2 separate regions of the Homo sapiens genome follow, and region 2 is linked to region 1. The links are contacts of gene promoters, found by promoter capture Hi-C in human tissues and cell types (Jung and others, 2019). All regions are on one chromosome and are shown on one strand. Each heading gives the region's core, a stretch centred on a gene start or on the middle of the fragment in contact. The rest is flanking DNA. Distances are from core to core; before and after follow the strand shown. Region 1 holds the start of VSX2 (visual system homeobox 2). Region 2 overlaps ABCD4 (ATP binding cassette subfamily D member 4).

Region 1 (4,307 bases), core at 857-3,356:
ACTCTGTGGCTCAGTTTGGCCTGTGTTGGAGCCTTTCCTTTCTCCTGAACAAGGAGGAGAAAGCCCGAACCGGGCCGCTTTCCCGGCGGCCACTCATCCTGCTCAACCGGTGCCGACGCCAAGGCCCCCGGGCAGATTCCGCCAAACAACCCGTGGTCTGCGCCCTGGCACGGCCTCGGACCTCAGATCCGTTGTCGGCGAAAATAGGGTCCGAGAGACCCGATCCCGGAACGGGGGACGGCAGCGGGGTGCGCGGGCAGGAGAGGTAACAGAAAGCGGGGGCCTCACCTGTGTCGCCGCTTCTTCCGTTTCTTGGTCTGGTTTAAAGCAGATTTGGACATTTTTCGATCGCTGGAGGAAACATCTTCAGAATCTGAAAAGCGGGCGTAGGGACATGCGGCAGAGTGGGGGACGCGCTCCGCTGTGCCCGAAACCCGCGAGGGCCCCACCCCGGGCTGCCTCCGCGAGCGGCGGGGACCTGCTCTGTCTCCCCAGGAAGCCTGCGGGCGCCCCGGTGGCCGTCCCATCCCTGAGCTCAGGCTGACCTCTCCCGCGCCGGGGCCCGAATCCGGAGGTTTTGAACAGATTTCGTTGTAAGAGAGGCAAAGGCCCCGGCGCGCTTGGGACCGGGACGACGGAGAGCGAGGCAGCCTTAGGGGGCCGCAGAGATCCCCGGCAGCGCTCGCGACCCTGCTGCGCCCTGCCCTGCGCGGCCAGCCCCAATGCCCCGGGCCGGAAAGTTGGCCTCGAGGAGCGAGGAGCGGAGCGGAGGCGTGGGGAGCTGGGCTCCGGGAAGACTGGGGGCTGCCGAGCACCGTCCTTTTCGCAAGGCGGCACAATGCGTCCCTACTCGAGGCCCGAGAGCCTGCGACGCGCTGGTTTTCGTTGCCTTTCCACGTAAAACAAAGTAAAACGCAACGAAAAATCGGGGGAATTGCCAAGCTCAAACAGGAATCGGAGGTTCGAGCGGGCCGCGACACACCTCCCGGAAAGCAGCGCGGGGAGAAGGCGGAGAGGTCACCCAGGGTCCCCGAGCCCGCGCGTCCCCGGGCTCCAGTATATAGTGGCGCTTACGTGGGAGAGGATGGCGGCCGCTTTAGCTGCCGCGATGGCCGGGTTGTCTGAGCTCGTGGGGGTGAAAAATAAACCCCAGTTGACCAGCGCGGGATTTGGGAATCAGACAACTTTGGACACCAGGGATGGGGCCGGAGCCGGAACAGCATCGGGCTCGAGGAGTGCGGATCCTACACCAGGCCGGGGCCGCAGTGGAGCAGCGGTGCTGGGGCCCTCCGACACGGCCGGCGACTCTGCACCACGGGCTCCGACACCCCAAACCCAGTTTTCAGTGGGGCTCCAACAGAGTGCCGTGGCCGAGCCCTGCCCGACGCGGGGACTGGAGAACTGCGCGGCCGCCCGAAACGCTTGGGGCCGAAACCCTGCGGACGCCGAAGCATCCTCCCGGGCCCCATCACCAGGCGCGTCGGCCCAAGGCCCAGGCGGCGACCCCCGGCCTGGCAGGAACTTTTCCGCCTGGAGGCCTGGTCCAGCAAGCGAGAGCCGACGGCGCGGGGCTCCCGGCTGTCGCCCCCCAGTCAGGCAGCAGCGCAACCTCTCCTCACCTACCCGAGCTGGCCGTCTGGCTGGTGTCCAGCGGCCCCGATGCTCTGCCCAATGGCTGCAAGTGGACGCTCTGCGGGTCGGACAGCACTTCCAGGAAGGTGGGCTGCGTGTAGAAGCCAGGGAGCCCCCCGGGCCCCAGAAGCCCCATGCCGCCCACCCCCGCGGGGCTGAGCACTGAGCGCGCCGCCAGCAAGTGCCCGGGGGCCAGGCCGTCGAGCGCTGCCCGCGGGTGGGAGCTCGGGGGCTCCTTGTTCAAGCCCAGGATCTCCTGGATGCCGAACCCAGTGCACCTGGCCGGGGCGCCCCCCGAGGTACTCTTGGCCACTGTCTCGGATTTGGGCTTGCTCAGCGCTTCCCCTGCTTTCCCCGTCATCTCCCTGTTCTTTGGAGGGGCTGAGGCCGCAGGTCTTTAGCTCCCCCCACCCCCCCGCCGGGCTTCCCGCTTCGCGAAGTTGGTCCCAGGTGCCCCCTCCGGTGTCTAATGCTCTGGAGCCCAAGGAGATTCCCCTTTTATCCAACCAGGCGGCAGCCCAAGTGGGGTCAGAGCTGAGCAGCCAATCACCGGGGCCAGGAGCGATTAGGAATTCCAAAAAGCTGGCAGCTCCCGCCGCAGGCAATGTCGAATGGCCAGGGTGCTGGGGGTGGAGCACCGGGTGGGCTCTGCAGGATGCCCATGGGCAGGGACCCCAGGGGCCGAAGTGAGACAACCAGGTTCAGGTTCAGGGCTGTTCCGGGAGGCAGAGTGGCTTGGGGCTCTGGGCAGATTCTGGCAGGGACAGGTCCCTGAGGTCAGGTGGAAGGATGGGCTAAGGGCAGAGGTGAGAGACTGGGAGACCTCCTTCCCTCAACTCCTATGCAGGTTGGCAGCATCAGGGCGGCCTGAATATGGCACCTCTGTGTAAACGGTTGAACAAGGGAGAGGTAAGTGCTGGGGCAGTGTGTGTGGTGGTAAGCTGGGAAAAGATCAGGCCAAGGTGTGCAGAGGGTGATGTAGGGGTAGGGAAAGTTTGCTTCCCCAGCACAAGGTATAATGCCTAGTTCGGAAGAGCTACTCAACACATATTGGCCCAATGAATGAATGATAAATGGGTCAGAAAGAGGGGTCCCTGGTGGGAAAGAGGAACAGTGATGATTACTTTTGGAGAACAACCATGGACATCCAAACCTCTTCCTAGAGTAAGCATGAAGCATGCCCAACTTTCATGGGAGGACTTGATTCTTCCACCCAATTCATTCGACTAATATGTATTGAGCTACTAGCTCCGACCTGGTAGCCAGGGGTTCCGCAGTAAATCAGACAAGGCAAGGGCCCTGCTATACTTCAGAGTTCATTGAGCAAACAGAATGAAGAGGAAGGGATTGTTGATGTGGAGGGAGAGGAAGGAGGAAGCGGGTGAGAGGAAATTAAAAGGTAAGCTGCTTTCCCCTGCACTCCACCACCTCAGCTAACTCTTCTGTGACCTTCTTGGGGCTGGGAACTATCTTATCGACCTTGAGGCTCCCTTCTTCACTGCGCCTAGCATATGGTCAGTTCATGGTAGGTTCCTTGAATTGAAGGCACCCTATGGGGAGATAAGGACTAGGTCCATTGCTTTAAGCAGAGATTGGAAAACCAGGCTGGGAAGATTCCATCCAGGATTTCTTAGCCAGTCAGGTGCAAACCCCCAAATGGAAGGAAACCCCCTAGCCATACCTGGCCTATTGCCAAGGTGTCTGGTACCCTCGTGGCTGCCATGGGGCCAGCCTGAGAGGTAAGAGGAGGCACCTCAGGATGTGGAACCTAGACCTTGCTAGCAGGGCTGTTGTGAGGAGGGTCTCCACTCCCATTGGTTTGGTCCACATAACAGCTGGAATTAGGTAGGGGCATCTCATGGTGCAGGAGATATCTGGGAGAGTGGTGCCTCTGTATCCCATAATAAGGCCGTGCCTACTGTGTGCCTACATCATCCCAGGCCCCTTACATGGTGTCATCTCTGGTGACACAATCTCAAGGCATTCTTCACCTTATATTCTATGGAGGTGGGTCCCAAGTAACACCACTCACGTAGACAACAATGTGAATGGTGCCCTCTGGAGTTGTGCAAAGCAGTAGACTCACCTGCCAGAAAAGAATTTCTGTCCCCATTTAATGGATACACAAACTTATGTTGCCTAAGAGGTTACCTAGCTAGTAAGCATCAGAGGTCAGATGAGTCAGCGCATGAGTCTGATGTCAGAAGCTGTTTTCTTTTGACTCCATCCCTCTCTCAGCCCACTCTCCATGCCAGCCCACCCTGGGAGGATGGATGAGGATGTTATGTTAATGGCATCTGTCATGTCCCTGACTTATCATGAGACATCCACGATGAGCCAGATGCCAGCTGATGGGCAAACGTGAGTGATGGAAAACAAGTGTGTGAGTGATGAAGTTGGCTCTTGCCAGATGAGGATGAAAAATCTCTTGACCAAACCCCATGTCTGAAGCTGCCAGTTCCCAATATCAGAGAGATAGTCGCCATCCTGCTGTAGGAGGTTGGAGACCGGGACAACCCCAGGCCCCCTGAGAAAAACCCTTGCCAGAGGCTGAAGGTGAAGGGAGGACTCAGCTTCCACCTGCGGCCAGCTCCACCCTGGGAGCTGGACTCCTTGACAGACTCCTGGCTACGGGGCTGTCTCTGAGCTTTTGAGGTGTCACTGTTACTGCTCCC
Region 2 (4,563 bases), core at 1,854-4,353, 56 kb before region 1:
TTCACCTGCAACCTGCTGTATGTGAGCTGGAGGAAGGACCTCACTGAGCACCTTCACCGCCTCTACTTCCGGGGCCGTGCGTACTACACCCTCAACGTGCTGCGGGATGACATCGATAACCCGTAGGCGCCCCAACTCAGTCCTTTCTACACTCTGTGTGGTCCTTTCCTTCTGGCCTAGCCCTGGAGACTGCTGGTGGCAGACACCAAGGAGATCATCTGCAGTCGTTTTCAAATGCTGCTGCCCAGAGTCATGGGGGAGGGTGCCCTGCAGAGGACTCCTGGAGAAGCTGCAGGGCTGTGAATAGGCAGCTAAAAAGAAGAAGCCTGCCAGGTGCAGTGGCATGCACCTGTAGTCCCAACAACTCAGGAGGCTGAGGCAGGAGGATCACTTGAGCCCAGGAGTAGTGCACCGTGAGCACACTTGGGAATAGCCACTGTACTCTAGCCTGGGCAACATAGCAGAAACCCCCATCTCTTAAAAAAAAGAAAAATGTTAGGAGCAGCTTTCTTTTGTCCTTTTCATACTTTATATCTTAGTCTTCCAGTAAGAAGACTAAGGGGTTTCTTTAGAGGGTTCTAAAGAAAATGTCCTTGCTAGAAAAACCAGCTCTTAGATTTTCATCAGTAAAAAAAATTACCACTATCCAGGACTCAGTCTAGGATTCACATCTCCATTCTATCACCACTCAGGTTATAACTCTTAAAGTCACCAAGCCCCAGGTTCCCCTTCTGTAAAATGAGGACAATAATAGTTCCTATCTCAAAGGGTGTAGTGAGGATGAAATATCATTCATGTAATGCACATGTACAGTGCTTGACACATAGCAAGTGTTTCAGTGTAAGTTAGCTATTGTTATTTTACAGATGAGGAAGCTGAAGCCCAGAGATTGCAAGTGACTTGCCCAAGGTCACGTCACTCATTGGGAATAGGAATCAGTATGGCCCTAGTGGTGAGATGAGACATAGGGGGTCTCCTTCACACCCATCCCCTCACTCACCACCTTCCTAGCAAGCACTTTGTTGGTTGGGGTACCTCTCAGCTCAAGCTTAGCTTTGGTGCAAAGATGCGTGGGAGGCTGCTGCTGCTGCCTAACTTCTAGGCCTCTTTCTGATGGCTATGGCTTCCATCCTGCCTCTGCCCCCTGAGTAGCTGGGACTACAGGTGTGCCTCACAGCCTGGAGCTTTCACAGCCAGATAACTAAAGGGGCCAGGCTAGGGCTTATATAAGAGAAATTTGGGAGGATTGAGATAAAGGGGATAGTCTTCTTGATCATCCAAAACAGCTCATCTACCTTCAAGTTTTTCTTTGGCTCTGCTCAGAGCTGGCTCAGGCCCCTGGGTACTGGACCTTTCAGTTCCCACTTTTTCAGGGGATTAACTAAGGCACCGTAAGATGCAACTCTCTAGAACCCTGTTTAAAGGCCCTGGGATTTAGTTGCCCCTAGGAAACCAGCCTTGTCTGGTTCCCTCTTCCCATAGGGTCAGTGTTCACAGCACTGTGAGGCAAGGTCAAGAGCAGAGGTGATGTGAAAGTTTCTTGTTCTCTCTACCTTTGGGCCCATCTCCCTGGGTCCAGCTACTCTGTGTCATTGGCTCCAGGGACCAGCGCATCAGCCAGGACGTGGAGCGATTCTGCCGGCAGCTCAGCAGCATGGCCAGCAAGCTCATCATCTCCCCGTTCACCCTCGTCTACTACACTTACCAGTGCTTCCAAAGGTGAAGCCTCCCTCCTCCCCAGCCTGGTGTTTCCCCAGAGGGCCCTCAGTCAGCTCTCCCAGGTCAAGGTCCAAGAGAAGCTTATTTCCCCTCTCTCCCACCGTACCTTACCACGTGCTCACCCATCCCACGTGCTCAGGCCCCTGCCCTTCCTTTGGCCCTGTGTTGCAGTGTCACAGATATCCTGGCTCTGAGAGCTCATACCAGATGCCCCCACATAGGAGCAGAGGGCCCATTGGGCCACTCAGATTGGACAGGGGCTACCTGAGAGGGAACAGGAGTCAGGGCTGAGGCATGTGGGGATAGGTGGCACCCCACACCCTCTCCCTTCTCTCCCTCTCTCTCTATTTCAGCACAGGCTGGCTCGGGCCTGTGAGCATCTTCGGGTATTTCATCCTGGGGACCGTGGTGAACAAAACTTTGATGGGCCCCATTGTGATGAAGCTGGTGCATCAGGAGAAGCTGGAGGGAGATTTTAGGTGTGTCTCCCTCACTTGAGGTTTCTGGGCTGGGGCATAATAGTTAAGGAAGGGGATCTGGAGTAAAACTGCCTAAGTTCAAATCCTAGCTGTGCCAGTTACTAGCTGTGTGATCTTGGAGAGGTCTTTAACCTCTCCAAGCTTCAATGTTCTTGTCTCTAAAGTGGAAATGGTACCGTTGCCTACTGAGAGGATTAGGAGGATTAATGAAATCATACCTGAGAAGGTCTGAGAACCGTGTCTGCCTGGCCATCACCATCGTCATTGTCATCTCTTGGCCTTCTCACTGCCCTGGCATAACCGCCCTGTCTTGGATCAGTTGGGTGTGGCAGCCAATGGATCCAGTGCCTGCCCTGTGCTTCTTGTCCCCCTCCTTTGGGCCAGGCCCTGGGAGGAGGAGATGCTGTGAGCAGGAATACCCCTGTCCTCTCTGCAGAAAGCTGAGGGGCAGCCCTGTCTCTGCAGAGCTCCTGCCACACCACCTAGCCCTGGGGTTTTCTACCCCATAACAGTCCAGGAAAGGGTCAGACTGAGGCAGCCACGGTTTTGAGGCAGAGCCGGGCTCCGCTTGGGCGGTCTTTGTGATCCAGGACTCCAACAAGAGTGAGGCCAGTACTCCCTGTTGTCAGCACACATTTCCCTTTGGTCCGCCCAGGTTCAAGCACATGCAGATTCGGGTGAATGCGGAGCCTGCTGCTTTCTACAGGTGAGTCTGGAGAGATGGTTCCCCTTCTGCCTTGCCAGAGCTGAGAGTGGAGAAGGAAAGATGAATCCTCAACCCTCCCACCACCACCGAGCTCAGGGGCTGAGTGTTGTCACACTTGGCTGTGACCCTCTCCCTCTACCTCCCCCTGCCCTTGCCTGCCTCATCCTTAGGTCCAGGGGTTTGCTTCTGAAGCTGGTGGTTCCTTACTGTGGCCAGCTTTAGTCTTAGTGGCCTAGCGTGGGGCCTGAAATTGTCAAATGAATGAATGCCTCATCCTCTTGCTGGTGACTGTAAGACATCCGTCTGCCTCTGCTCTTCTGTCTGTTAAGAAGCTTTCTTGCCAGTGCCTGAGGTTCAAGCCTGATCCTTTGTCTCCGTAGCGTGGGATGGAATGGGAGCTTCTCAGAAAACCAGGAGACCTGCTCCCCACAATGCTGTCTAATGGAGCCAAGCGTCTGGTCTCCTGACGGCAGCAGCAGGAGCAGCAGCAGCGGCATGAAATCCCATCCCTTCCCTCCAGGGCCAGAACCGGTCCCTGTGCTCTGCCTTATGTGAGGCCTCTGAAATCAGCGTTAGGATTGATAGTGCAGGCAGAGGTTTGCGTTTAAGAAGTGGAAGCTACTCCTTGGCTCTGTACTTGGGGTGGATGTGATAGCCCTGGGACCTTTGCTCCTCAGTCTCTGCTGCAGTTTGCAACCTCCACCACTTGAGGGCACCAAGAATACTGGGAATCTGCGCTGGGGTGGGGTTGTGAGGTGGGCAGGGCTGGGTGTGTAAAAAAGTTGCTTTTGGAGGCCGGGCATGGTGGCTCATGCCTGTAATCCCAGCACTTTGGGAGGCCGAGGCGGGTGGATTGCCTGAGGTCAAGAGTTCGAGACCAGCCATGGCCAACATGGTGAAACCCTGTCTCTACTAAAAATACAAAAAATTAGCTGAGCATGGTGGCGGGCACCTGTAATCCCAGCTACTGGGGAGGCTGAGGCAGGAGAATCACTTGAATCCGGGAGGCAGAGGTTGCAGTAAGGCAAGATCCTGCCATTGCACTCCAGCCTGGGTGACAGAGCAAGACTCCGTCTCAAAAAAAAAAAAAGAAAAAAGTTGCTTTTGGATTCTGCAGCCTCTGCTCATGAAGCTCTGGGGAAGGCAGGTTAGTTTGTAGAGTTTCAGATGAGTTCTTCTGTGGCCTCTGTGCAAAATCTGAAATCTCCCTCCACCTTTTCTGCCTAGCGAATTTCTTCCCATCCTTGAAACCCCAGATCACCTCCTCTGGAGAGCCTTCCCAGACTCCCTTAATGGCTAAGCCTATCTGCTGCCATGGCCCTGAGGGCACACTTAGTACTCCTGATTCCAAGTGAAGAATGCAGTGTGCCTGCCTGCCCTCTGGACTGAGAGCTCCTCAAAGACAGAGATAATTTTCTCATTTCTTTATTGCACTAGCTAACTAGTGCAATGCCTGGTACACCTAGTGACCGCTCTGTGTATGTTTATTTAACAATAGTTTTTATTTATTGAGGGCTCCTTATGTGCTTGGCACTTTATATTTAGAAACTTTTAATTCTAACTCTAACCTATTACATAGGTATTATTGGCTCCATTTTATAGATTAAAAAAACTGAGGCTTGGAGGCTTAAGTAGCCTGCCTGTGTCACGCAGCTAGTA

Evidence for each region. The method cuts DNA at HindIII sites, captures the fragments that hold promoters and counts their contacts. A contact is called where the count stands out against the background at its distance.
Region 2: a contact is called between a fragment that was not itself captured here and the fragment with the promoter of VSX2 in region 1, in 2 of the 25 tissues and cell types used here (liver and mesenchymal stem cells).

What each region holds. Positions count from the first base shown.
Region 1 is chr14:74,237,248-74,241,554 of GRCh38, reverse strand. It overlaps VSX2 (visual system homeobox 2), which reads right to left and starts at 2,106. Exons shown (of 5, transcript NM_182894.3): 1 at 1,624-2,106; 2 at 289-373. The coding sequence starts at 1,993. RefSeq lists an enhancer at 1-755. The HindIII fragment of the contact is 17,172 bases long and covers 1-4,307 here.
Region 2 is chr14:74,293,489-74,298,051 of GRCh38, reverse strand. It overlaps ABCD4 (ATP binding cassette subfamily D member 4), which reads left to right. Exons shown (of 19, transcript NM_005050.4): 4 at 1-122; 5 at 1,603-1,719; 6 at 2,073-2,198; 7 at 2,854-2,904. Among named protein-coding and RNA genes, the nearest start is that of ABCD4, 7.2 kb to the left of the region's middle. The HindIII fragment of the contact is 3,358 bases long and covers 1,425-4,563 here.